2 separate regions of the Homo sapiens genome follow, and region 1 is linked to region 2. Evidence: promoter capture Hi-C in 16 types of primary human blood cells and fetal thymus (Javierre and others, 2016). All regions are on one chromosome and are shown on one strand. The core of a region is centred on a gene start or on the middle of the fragment in contact, and the rest is flanking DNA. Distances in the headings are between cores, read along the strand shown. Region 1 overlaps SLC28A2 (solute carrier family 28 member 2). Region 2 holds the start of DUOXA1 (dual oxidase maturation factor 1).

Region 1 (6,452 bases), core at 3,639-6,138, 130 kb after region 2:
ATCAGAATGTATCCCTGTTGTTAAGTAACACATGACTATATATGGAGATGATTCAGAGCAGCTTCCAAACAAAAGGTTATTTTTATATTTTCTTCTCTTTATTTTTGAAAGTTACCTCAGTGACTTCTTAAAATTTTTAATTGTTTTATTCACAATTTGCTTCTCTCTAAAAATTTTTATATTATCATGTTTTATATATACTGAATTGACAGTAAATTCTTTGTAAGTTTTTCATGCTTACATGATATTTCATATTTTACTTAGCAGTGTGGCCGTTAATCATGTGAGTCACATTGCTTGTGTCTATATTTGAACAGTGGTATGCTAGTAAATGTTTAAGAATTGACTCTCCACCGGGCTAGTGGCTCATGCCTGTAATCCCAGCACTTCGTGAGGCTGAGGTGAGAGGATCACTTGAGCCCAGGAATTCAAGACCAGCCTGAGCAACATAGTGAGACCTGCCTCTACAAAAATTTTTAAAAATTAGCAGGGCATGGTGGTGCGTGCCTGTAGTCCCAGCTATTCCAGGAGGCCGAGGTGGGAGGATCACTTGAGCCCAGGAGGTTAAGGCTGCAGTGAGCCATGATCGTGCCACTGTACTCCAGCCTAGGGGACAGAGTGAGACCGTCTTGAAAAAAAAAAAAGAAGAAAGAACCGGCTGTCCACATGTAGTTTTGCAATGAATGTTGGTTAATATTTTTGCTCACCTTAATGAGGAGTAAGACCAGGGGTTGGCAAACTTTTCCTGTAAAAGATAAGGTAGTAAATATTATTGGTTTTGTGGTTGATGTGGTCTCTGTTGCAATTATTAAACTCTACCATTTTCGTAGGAAAGCAGCCACAGGTGATACTAAACAAATGAGCATGGCTGTGTTTTGATAAAACTTAATTTTTAAAAAGAAGGTGAGATGAACTTGGCCCACAGACCACAGCTTGCTAATCTTTAGTCTAGATGAAATAATAAATTAAGACCTTATTTACAGTATTCGCCTGTAACGTAAAAACTCTCAACATGGCTGATTTCAAGTAACCAAAGGGTTACTTGAACAAGGAGTTGGGAAGAGATGTATCATTATATAAAATTTCCACCATACACATACAGCAGACATGAATAACTTCATGAGCTCACATGACAGAAAAATGTAGCAAAATAATTAGAAAATGATGAGTTTTTAGTATTTATTACCTTTGTCTTTAATGTAATTTAATTATACGTTTATATAGTTTTAATTTTTAGTAATGGCTTGCACAATTCCTGAAAATGTAACAATCACTTCTCTCAAGCCAGCGCAGGCCAGCTTCCCCTGCACCACTGACTCTAGCACTTACCAGATTTTGGGCAAGTTATTTACCCTCTCTAAACCTCAGTTTTCACCCTGTAAAACAAGAATAATATTAGTACTTAGCTGAAAGGATCTTGGTAATTTTTTTTTGCCAGACTGTTGTTGGCACCTTAAACTGCTCTGATATATAACATGTCCAGTTCCCTTCAAGTCTTATCGACCTTATATTTTCTCATATAAACCATGTTAACTAGTTACATAGATATAAAATCATGCCTTAAAGTTCTAACTTGCATTTATTTTTATTTTTTGAGAAATGAGGTCTTACTTCATTACCCAGGCTGGTCTTGAATTGCTGGGCCCAAACAATCCTCATGTCTCAGCCTCCCAAAGTGCTGAGATTACAGGTGTGAGCCATGTGCCTGACCTTAACTTGCATTTCTTTAAATTTTTGTAAAGCTACACATTTTCCTCCATTTGCCTTACTTTCCATATTTCTACGTGTGATTTTCTTTTCTTTTTTTTTGGAAACGGAGTCTCACTCTGTCATCCAGGCTGGAGTGCAGTGGTGTGATCACTGCAACCTCCACCTCCCGGGTTCAAGCGATTCTCCTGTCTCAGCCTCCCGAGTAGCTGGGATTACACGTGCTACCACACCCAGCTAATTTTTTTTTTGTATTTTTAGTAGAGATGGTGTTTCACCATCTTGGCCAGGCTGGTCTTGAACTCCTGACCTCAGGTGATCTGCCCACCTCAGCCTCCCAAAGTGCTGGGATTATAGGCGTGAACCACTGTGGCCGGCCTACTTTTCTTTATCAACTAAAGTAAGTTCTGGATTTTGAACCTCATTTCCTTTCTCCTGACCAACTCTAATAGAACCCACATAGATTTCTTGTTTCCAGTTCTCCCCACCTCCTGCCAATCTATCCTATATAGCTTCTACCAAAACTACCTAAAGTATGTCTGAACTCCCTTATATCACAAACCTCTGTAGCTCTCCAGTTGCTCCTGAACAAAGCCAAACTCCACAGCCTGGTATTCAATTCTCCCCAAAACCTCTTCCCCACAACCAGGATCTGTATCCAACTTGACTTTCCAACATTAACTCTTGCAATTCCCTTTCTAATGCCACCCTATGCTCTAGTGAAAGTCAACTATCAACTGTTCCTTATATGTAATCCCCAGTTTCCTGCCTCCATGTCATGCATGTCATTACATCATTGCTTATGAGTGTACTGTCTTCATTTTTTGTCTTTGTGCCCAAATACAACACATATTTTAAGGCTCAACTCAAGAGCAATCATGTCCATGAAACTTTCCCTGATGCTGCCTCTCCTCCCCTCAACCTCACTGGCCCCAGTACTAAAAGGTCCCTTCTTTCTCCAAACTTCCATAACATTCTATCTGACCCTCTCTTATAACACTTTAAGCTTTTGACATTTTGTTATAGACTTACATGTATATTATATCCCCTATACTGGACTGTAAATACATTGAGGGCAAGATCAATGTCTATTTCATCCTTTTGTCTCCTATAACACTGGAAACAATGCTTTACCCATAGTTTATACTTAAAATGCCATAACATTCAAAATTCAATAAATACATGTTAATAAGTTATGTATATAATCTAGATAACAGACTTTGTAATTTCTTCATGTGTACATTTTTCAATTCTGTTTTGTTTCTGTATTGATTTTTAAGTATTTATTTCTTTTTCTTCTTGTTCTTTTGTTTGATTAACTCTGATGATCTGGGGTGCTTTGTAGGGAGTAATCTGACATGTAGCTTTAAGCTGATGCTTTTCCATACTGATACCCACTTTTCTAGCAAGTTATTAAATTGTGAGTTCTTTCTCTATTCTGATGTTGCTTCGACTTTATTAAGTTAATGTGATGATTTGGATTTATTTTTAAATCTTTTGTTTCACTGACACAGTTCTGAGTACTTAACACGATATCATTGTTTACAATGTACATTAAAACTTGATGGCTCATGTATTTGCATTAGTTTTTCCTTTAAAAAATATTCCTTGGGGCTGGGCATGGTGGCTCATGCCTGTAATCCCAGCATTTTGGGAGGCCAAGGCAGGCAGATCACTTGAGGTCAGAAGTTTGAGACCAGCCTGGCCAACATGGTGAAACCTAGTCTCTACTAAAAATACAAAAATATGTGGGCATGGTGGTGGGCACCTGTTCTCCTAGCTACTCGGGAGGCTGAGGCAGGAGAATTTCTTGAACCTGGGAGGCGGAGGTTGCAATGAGCCAAGATCATGTCATTGCACTCCAGCCTGGGCAACAGTGAGACTCCGTCTCAAAAATATATATACTATATATTTTTTTTGTCAAATTTTATTTTATTATTATTATTCTTAATTTATGTTTTTGGGACTGCATGCCATAGTTTAACTGGTACAGTTTTTTTTGCCTTTTTAGTGTAATGTTTAATAAAGCATAGCATGCATACAGAAAAATAAACATAAGCCTTAATGAATTTTCACAAAGTGAATACAACCATATGACCATCGACCAGATGAAGAACCAAAACATTATCTGTACCCAAGAACCATTTTATGTTTCCTTTCAGTCAGCCTCCCTAAGGGTAATCATTATCCTGACTTTTAGCATCATAGATTAATTTTGCCTGTGTTTGGACTTTATATGGGAAGTCTAATTTATACTTTAAATGAAAATATACCATATATATACTTTTGCTTCTTTTGCTTTACATTGTGCTTTGGAGATTCTTCCATATTATTGCATATATTGTACTTTGTACATTTTTAATTGCTGTATAGTATTTCATTGTAAGAATCTACCACAGTTTATCTGCTCATTTTACTGTGGGTCTGAATTTTAGTAGTTTCTATGCTTTTGCTATCATAGTGCAGCTATGAACATTTTTGTGCATGTCTTTTAGTAAAGATAAATACACCTTTCTACTGGGTATATACTTTGGAGTGGAATTGCCATGCTATAGGGTATGTGTAGGTTTATGTAGCTTTAACAGATGCTAAACATATTTTTAGCAAATTTCACTCCCCTGGCAGTGTTATGAGAGCATGTCTTTTTTCATTGTCTCCATTGTATGTGTGTAGTATTATCACATTGTAGCTTTGGTTTGTATTTCCCTAATGGCTAAGGAACTTGTGCATCTTTTCGGCTTTTTCTGGCCACTGAATATTCTCTTTTGTGAAGTGCCTGTTCAGGTCTTTAATTGGCAGTGTTTTTCTTTCTTAGTGTATAAAAATAGTAGTACATTTTATAAATGATGAAATACAAACAAGAGTACATTTTAAGCACTTGCCATTAAAAAAACTAGTATGTAAGGTAATACATGTGTTAATTAGCTTGATGTAGCCATTCCACAATTTATATATATTTTAAGCCATCATGTTGTATACCATAAACATATACAATTTTTGTCAATTTTATTTTAAATTTTTTTTAGAGATGGGGTCTCACAATATTGCCCATGCTAATCTTGAACTATTGGGCTCAAGTGATCCTCCCTCCTTGGCCTCCCAAAGTGCTAGGATTACAGGTGTGAGCCACTGCACCCAGCCAATTTTTGTCAATTTTAAAAAGAAGTACAAAATTAATACCCTGAATGATGTTGCTACCACTGTAAATGATACTTTCATACTTTCTAGCTATCTGTCACAAGTATATAGGCAAATCATTTTTATGAGTTTATCTATCTACCTATTCTTTTATTCAGCAAACACTTATTGAACATCTATTATGGGCCGGGCACTTGTTAGCGACCTAAAGCAATAATAGTATGTGCTAGGTACTAATTTAGGCACCAAGAATACAAAGATAAAAACAGAAATGCTCCTTTCCCTGATATGCTCAAAACCTAATAAAGACAGGTAAACAGAAAAATGACAATATCATGCTATATGGTAAGTGCTATATGGTAAGTGAGTTGTGGTCAGGAGGTGATGGAAGAAATCTTTTCTAGGCATGCAATTTGTATCTACTCTTGGACTAGTCCAGCCTGCCTCTTACTTTGCAGGAGGCTTACTCAACTGGCATTTGACTGCATATAATTTTAAACTAGCTTTATCTAGTACATCGGTTTAGGTCCCAACAGGAAACAGATGGCATACTTAAATTAAGATAATTATAGGAGAATTTATTTACAAAGAGACCATTACAAAGATATGTATGAGGTATGGTGACACCATAAGAAAGGATAATGCAAGAAGCAAAAGTCTTGAAGCAGTGAACAGTTACTATTCGTAGGCCTGAAGGAATAAGATGTAAGAGCACCTGGCAGGAGAGTCAGATAAAAAGACCTCCTCAACACACTGACCTGTCTTTTCATACACTCTGATCATCTGTGGAGGTCCCAGTAGCAGAACCCAACCTGATAAGCCAGAGGACATGGGAGTACATTGATGTAGTTTACATGAGTTAAATTCCCAGGGCACAGAGTGGAGTGGAGAGTGGTGCTGGAGGAGCACACCAAAGATATCTGGCACACATGGGAAGGCCAGGATTGAAATTAAATTCATTCCTTGATATACTTTGCAAATGATGTTCCAAAGATAATGATGTCCTCAGGTATGCTGGCCCTTTTACTCACTACTTTCTCTATTAAGCATGGAAAAATGAGGAAGGATCACTTGAGCCCAGGAGTTTGAGACCAGCCTGGGGAACATAGCAAGACCTCATCTCTACAAAAATTTAAAAAAGAAAATTAGCTGGGCGTGGTGGTGCACACCTGTAGTCCTAGCTACTCAGAAGGCTGAGGCAGGAGGGTCACTTGAGCCTGGGAGTTCAAGGTTGCAGTGAGCCATGATCATGCCATACCACTGCACTCTAGCCTGGGCAACAAAGTGAGACCTTGTCTCTTAAAGAGAAGAAAAGCAAAGCAAAGCAAAGCAGAGTTCTTGAGATCCTAAAGAATCATCTTGAGTTGATCCAGTCAGATGGTGATAAGCATTGTTTCCTCCTTTCTCAGCTTACCTGTATCTCATAGTACACACTCTGCTCAGCTAACACAGGGTTGGGCTTCCTGCAGAAGGGACAGGAGGGGATGGGGGCAGGAATGAAAAGGAAGACTAGGAACTGGGAGTGTGTTAGATGGGAGGGGCAGCCATGGAACTCCATGGGCCAAAGCCCCAGGGCATTAGGAGTTAATGGCTGGTCCTAACCCTGG
Region 2 (6,417 bases), core at 3,582-6,081:
TGTTGTCTGTGAGAGTAGCATGGTGTCAGGCAAAGAGACAGAAAGACAGACAGTTTTAACTTCTAATCCTGTATTTTGGGCAAGTCACTTAATCCCTGAGTGTCAGTTTTAACATGAACTTTTTTGCTTTTTCTTAACTACTCAACTCTCCCATCCCTGAGGAATAGGCGTCTCTCTTCTCTCCTATTCTGCGAATCCATCCTCCTGGGCTCTAGCCATTCATGCCTGCCTTCTCCACCACCTTTATCATCAGTTGTCCCCCTTCCCATCATAGCGTCCCAGCTTCTTTTTCTCTGCTGGCTCCTTCTCTCAAGGGTATACTGAAATTTTTCCCACCTTAAGAACACACAAAAAAAGAACCTTCTCCCTTGATCTTCTTGGTCCCCTCCAGCTACCATCCTATTTTACTCTATTCCTGTCACAGCCAGGCTTTTGAAAAAACAGTGTATATTGGCATTTCCATTGCCTTATCTCTTCAACCTACCACAATCTGACTTTTCCTCATCCCTGCCTTCTCCATTAGGTCACTAAGTGTTAAATCCAAAGGGCAGTTTTCACTTTTCATGCTTCTTGACCTCTCTGTGGTATTTAACACTGCAGACCATGCCCCCTTTCCTCAAACTTTACCTCCTTACACTTCCATCACACCATGTTCTCCAGGGGCTCCTGCTTTTGGCCATCTCTTTGTGGCTCCTCTACTAGTTCTTTTTCCTCCCTGTTAAATGTTGATGCTCCCCAGGAATCTGTGGTGGCTCTCTTCTTTTAGCAGTATTCCAGATTCCCTGGGCAATCTCATCCATTCCCATGGCTGATGGTTCTCAAATGTCTTCAGGTAGTCCTCCTACCTGAGCTCCAAACTCAAAAGGGCCAACCACCCTGTGGACATTTTCACTTGGATGTTCCCTTGATGCCTGAAATTTTAACAACCCCTCAAATGGAATTCATTGTCTCTGCCCTGCTTTTTATTCTATTGTCTTTGTATGTTTGGCAACATCACCACTGGTCAATCAAATAAGCCAGACACCTGGACCATCTTACCTCCTAAATATTTCTTGAAACTATCCATGCATTTCCTTCTGTACTGCCTCTGCCCTAACCCAAGCTCATCCTCTCTTACCTGGTTCCAAAATAATTTTTTTTCTAGTAAGCCAATATAATCATTTCACTTCTCTGCTCTGGCTAAAATCTCATCTTCTTACTTTCCCACATAAAGTGCTTTATAACCCGGTTCCACCTATACTGTCTCCATCTTTTGCCCAGCCTAGTCTATAGCCATACTGAATGACTGACCTCTCCCTGAATCTGACACGCTCTTTCAAGCCTTCAATACCTTTGGATATGCTATTTCCTCTGCCTGGAATGCACTCACTCTCTTGGCAAATGCCTTTTCACCCTTCAAGTCTCAGTTTGTGTTCCCTCCTCTGTGAAGTTTCCTCTGATGCCACTGGGCCAATGTAGAGGTTCCCACTTTGAACATTCTGATTGCATTTTGAACATACCTTCATGATAACAATGATTACATTGTACTCTAATTGTCTGAACATCTGTCTCCCAATTAGACTGTAATCTCCTTGAGGGCAGAGATTTCATCTTTCCATCTTTGCATCCCCTGGATGTAGAGTATACTAATCAGGCTCTGGATCAAATGAATAAATATGAATGAGTTCCTCTCCCCACAGGTGGCTTCTGATTTTGCACACAAGGGGGAGCTATGCTCCCTTATTGCCCTGTGCTAATAATTCAATATTAACTGAGTGTCACCAATACAGAGCTAAGGACTGGGCACAAAGGGATTTGACTAACCCTGTCAACTTTTAGTAATTTCTCAAAATTTTCAGAAAGCCTCTTCCAATAGTTAGAGTCTCCAAGACTAACAAAGACCCAAACATGAATTTTCATGTTTAATTGAATCAGAAACATACATCTCAATCTTAGCTGAAATGAGTAACTAAGAATTCGTGTATTAAATTATTTTATAAAATATGTGATAGTGGTATTTATTTTAAAGCAGATGTTTACTGACGTAAGAATTCTTTATTTATGACATGTAGACTGAAGCTATTATATTTTTAAATAAAAGTTCATAGGAGGAAGGTCTATAAAATGTAAAATATCTTGGCTAATAAGATAGAAGATAAAGCGAGGCTAACAGCAAGAACACATGTGATACGCTGGAGTTCAAAAAGGAGTATTTTTAATATATGTGAATAAGAGATAATATAATGTATTTTGGTCAGGGTTAAATATTATTCCTGCATTTATTTTAAAGGGAGGTTATAAAAAAATTTACAAGAATGTTTCATTTCTATTAACATGTGCTTAAAAGAAACACTAACAAAAGGCTTTTCGTATTTTAAGTATAGAACAATGTTAACTTATTTCCAGTTCTCCAAAATGTCATATTTATTAAAGATGACAGAAGCAAAAAAACAGTTGGTAAATGAAATTTGCCTTTCTTAATTTCTTCTTGTTCCATTTCATAACTTAGGTCTTCCTTTATTTGCATTGCCTAATTTAAAGTTAATTTTTCATGACCCTGACCCTAATTTTGTTTTCATTATTAAGCTAACAGGGCTCATGCATGAAGAGGTGGGACAGAAATGAGAAGACCCCACACCCCACAGTCCTGCTTTTCCTACAACGCTTGTGTTTCCCTGGGGAACATCTTTCTTTCTGGCTCGTCAAGTAACATCTGACAGTAAAATTAGTTTTAATGTGAGAAAATCTCATATCAATATTAACTTGACCCACTCCTCCCCTACCTCATCACCATGACTAGGATGTATGCACAGTGTACATTGATATAAATAAGCAGACACAAGATACAGTCAAATATGCACCTACAAATTTAGATAAACAGAGACACAGACGCAAGAACCACCCAGACTGTCATTCTCAGTAATATAGACTTCATCCCAGGCCCCTGTGACAAAATTGGGATGCTTTCTCATGGGGTGGGGGGAGTTTCCCACACTTTAGGGTCCTCCTTTCTCACCTGGCCTAGGGAGGAGGAGGCAGCATCCTCCCTTTCCAGGCTCCCTTATGTACTGAAGACTTTCCTTATGCTCAATCTTATTATAGACACAATTACCCAATCCTTACCTACCACAGGTTGAAGTGGAGTTCCTATGTGTGTATGAGAGGTGGGTAAAACATAAAGTTACAATCTTTAAGAAAATTCAGCCTAGAACAACCTCCAGCCTTCTTCATTCAAAGTTATGTGCTAACGTCTTGTGGCCTCTCTTGTAGCCTGACAGGACTTTTTTCCTGAAGTCTTCCCCCTTGCCCACCTCCCCCATCTGCTGGAAACTATAGAGTAAGGGCCACTAATTCTCCACAAGTGGGGAGTGGGTGACATGGCTGGAGTTGCCAAGACCTCTGATTGGTAATGCACAGCTACTGCAATGTGATGCTTTTTTCTCTGATTGGGGTAGACCCCATTAAACGTTTACAGCTGTGGCTAGCTAAGGGGACCCTGTCAGGAACTCCTGTGCTAGACTTTCCTCTTCAAGGAAGGGGTCTGTGTGTACGTGTGTATCTGTGTATGAATGTATATGTGTGTTGTTGCACAAAAATAGGAGTTAAGTGGAGAAATTGAACAAGATCTGAAAAGTGGATTGGAGGCAGGATTCCCCAGTAAGGGCTGATGTGGATAAGGAATTCAAGGGTGCAGAATCATGCAAGCCAAAGTATCCAGACTCGAGTTAAACTGGGATGGCGATTCGATGTCTATAAACCTTGTGGCATTTATGGCCTTAAGAGGTTTTCCTTGCCTCCCCAGTTTCTTACCAAACTCTCTCTTTGAAGAACTCCCACTTGATCCGAACTTGGTCTGGATGAAAGCAGGAAGTGCAGCCCTAGGTGCCAGGGCGGGAGCAAGCACTTCAAGACCCCCTCCAAAATCACCTGGACCGCACAGATCTAAGCAGCCGCATCCCCCACCACCCACACCCGGACCACTATTCCCTACCTTCCCCTCTTCCAAACAGTGCGTGTGTGGCAGCCTGCGCCTCTCGCCTTCCCCCGTGGAACCTCACACGAAGCGCCCCCGGGGGTGTGATTAAAGAGGGAACCAGGTCCCGACGTTCTGTGAACAAACGCGCGCCCTTACTCTCAGTGGGGCTCCCGTCCGACCCCCACTCCTCTCCTAACTCACGTAAGGACCCGGCTGTGACCGGACAAACCGGGTCTGGGGTGCTTCCAGTCACTCTTCAAGTCACTCCCAAACTTCTCAGACTGCACCCGAGGCTCTGCGGCGCCGCCTCCCTCTCCCGGCCTGGTACAGAGAAGGGCTGGGTGCGCCAGGACAGTAGTACCGGGGTCTGCCAGCTCCGCAGAGGTCCCTCCAATCCCCCCTCCTCCTCTGCGCCCCCCCACCCATGCCCAGCAATCCCAGCAGCTCCAGCGCAAACCTAGCGACGCAGTTCCGGGTCTGGCGGGGCGCGGGCGCGGCTCGCAGGGCGGTGGGACCCCCAAGACCTCACGAGGATCCCCGGAGGGAGACGTGACTCCGGGGTCTTAGAGGGGTTTAGGTCGGATGGGTGACTTGCTTTGACGCCTGGCCTGGTCTGTGGGTGGCAGGTGATCGATGGCCTTGGACTTGGAGCCCAGACCCGACGGTGTCGAGAGGATCTGAGGAGAGTCTCCCCTCCCCATACCCTCTCCGCCTCCCACCCTCTCCCCAGCCCCATGGGACTTGTGAAGGCGGACTTGCTTTTTTCGCCGTCCACACAACCGCACTAGCCGGGCCTTCGGCACCGACGGAACATCTCTACCTGCGCCCCGGGAGCCCTCGCCGTCTCACCTCGCGCGCTGCCGTCCGCTGGAAGCACCTCCGCGCCTCCCCAGGCGCCAGACTCCATCCCGCCCCACTGCGCCCCGCCCCGTGGCTGAGCCGAGCCGGGCCGTGCCTTCCCCTCCTCACCCCCAGCCCCGCCCGTCCCGGCGCAGAGCTGCAGAGGCACCGGACGAGAGAGGGCTCCGCGGGCCCAGCTGGCAGCCAGGCCGGAGACAAGTTGCAGTCCCGGGCTCTGGTGACGCCGTGGCCGCAGGTCAGATTTGGGAGGGCTTTTCCCGGCCCGCGGGCCTGGGCGCTCCGGGGGAGGGAGCTCCAAGGGCAGGGTGGCGGGGGAGCCGCAGCTCCTCCACGTTATGGAAGAAAGGGGAATGCTAGCCCCCTGCGCCTCCGATCTTATCCTAAGGCTAAAACCGGTCCTGTTAGGGCCTGTCCTCTGCCCAATCAAGGTTTTGAGAGACTGGGTTCTTTGGGACCTGGGAATGTTGGGTGGCCTAGTTTGCCTGGGCCTGCGGGTTCTTCTCCTGGCACCAGCACAACATACCAGGGAGGGAGCTTTGGGCTTTAGGATCCAAGCTTTCCCCCTCAGCCCTCCCTTAGGACCAAGATGGCCTTGACCCATCTTCCTCCCACCTCAGGGCCACCAGGGTCACCACTCTAGGGCTTCAGGCTGGAAAAGCAGCCATGTGGGGCAAGAACAGGCAGGCCTGTGTTCTCTCTCTGGTTCTGCCGCTGGCTCTGCCTGGGGCTTCACTGCCCTGTCCTGGGCAACCTTCCTGTCAAGGTTGTTGAGAAGTTACTGCCCCATCGTTGTGTAAATCATTAAGGGCAACCCACCCACAAGGAGTGGTTATTAAGCATGTCCACCTTCCTCTTCAGGTCATCCCCACACAGCCTGGTCTGAAAGCCCATTTCATGCCCTTAGGGGCTGAGTGGTACATTAGCGTTGAGGCCCAGGATCCTGAAGACATGGTGGTGGCGGGGGAGGGGAATGACATCTTGGGATCAGGGAAGGACCGCTGTGGCTACTTCCGTATATCCAGCTTTACAGCTTCAACCATCCAGAGCCCAGCTCTTCATGCACTATTAAAGGCCAGCACCTGGACAGACTCTGTGAAATGCAGCAGGTGATACTGAGCTTTCCAGTTATGGCAGGGCCTAGGTTTTTTCATTTAATAGGAGATGGAGTAGGGATGAGGTCACTCCCTGGGTTCTCTCCTCTAGACAACCCATCCAGGAACCCTGATGTTTGGCTGGGGATGAGGCTTTCCCTGAGCTCCTTTCTTCCTCTATCCTAACCCCAATCTCCAGGTTGCCTTCAGGAGGTCTTCGCCGGCTTTAGGTACTCCTTACTCGCACTCAGGAGTCCCAGCCTGAGTCCTCTGCTGCCTCTGTTTCCCTGTTGACTCTGGGTGGAGAGAGAGAGAGCAGGAAGCTTGCACTAAATACATGAGCACCTGGTAGTGCATCCCTTCTGGATCCAACCAGAGGAGACAAGCTCCCGCCTACCCTCTCTATATCACATTTGCCCAACACCTGTCACTTGCTTTGAATTAAACCTCCTTCTCACATTTGATTCTGGCAACCATGCTTAGAAGTAAACAGTTCAGGCATATTTGCTC

Evidence for each region. The method cuts DNA at HindIII sites, captures the fragments that hold promoters and counts their contacts. A CHiCAGO score of 5 or more calls a contact.
Region 1: a contact is called between a fragment that was not itself captured here and the fragment with the promoter of DUOXA1 in region 2, in 1 of 17 cell types (naive B cells). The highest score is 5.4, in naive B cells.

The regions. Positions count from the first base shown.
Region 1 is chr15:45,254,623-45,261,074 of GRCh38, forward strand. All of the region lies in intron 3 of SLC28A2 (solute carrier family 28 member 2), which reads left to right. SLC28A2-AS1 (SLC28A2 antisense RNA 1) reads right to left here. Exons shown (of 5, transcript NR_120335.1): 2 at 1,330-1,376; 3 at 708-745. Among named protein-coding and RNA genes, the nearest start is that of SLC28A2, 5.6 kb to the left of the region's middle. The HindIII fragment of the contact is 4,355 bases long and covers 2,712-6,452 here.
Region 2 is chr15:45,125,048-45,131,464 of GRCh38, forward strand. DUOXA1 (dual oxidase maturation factor 1) reads right to left here and starts at 4,832. Exons shown (of 9, transcript NM_001276266.2): 1 at 4,805-4,832; 2 at 4,413-4,568; 3 at 3,971-4,087. It overlaps DUOX1 (dual oxidase 1), which reads left to right and starts at 4,947. Exons shown (of 34, transcript NM_175940.3): 1 at 4,947-5,051. The HindIII fragment of the contact is 6,225 bases long and covers 1-5,369 here.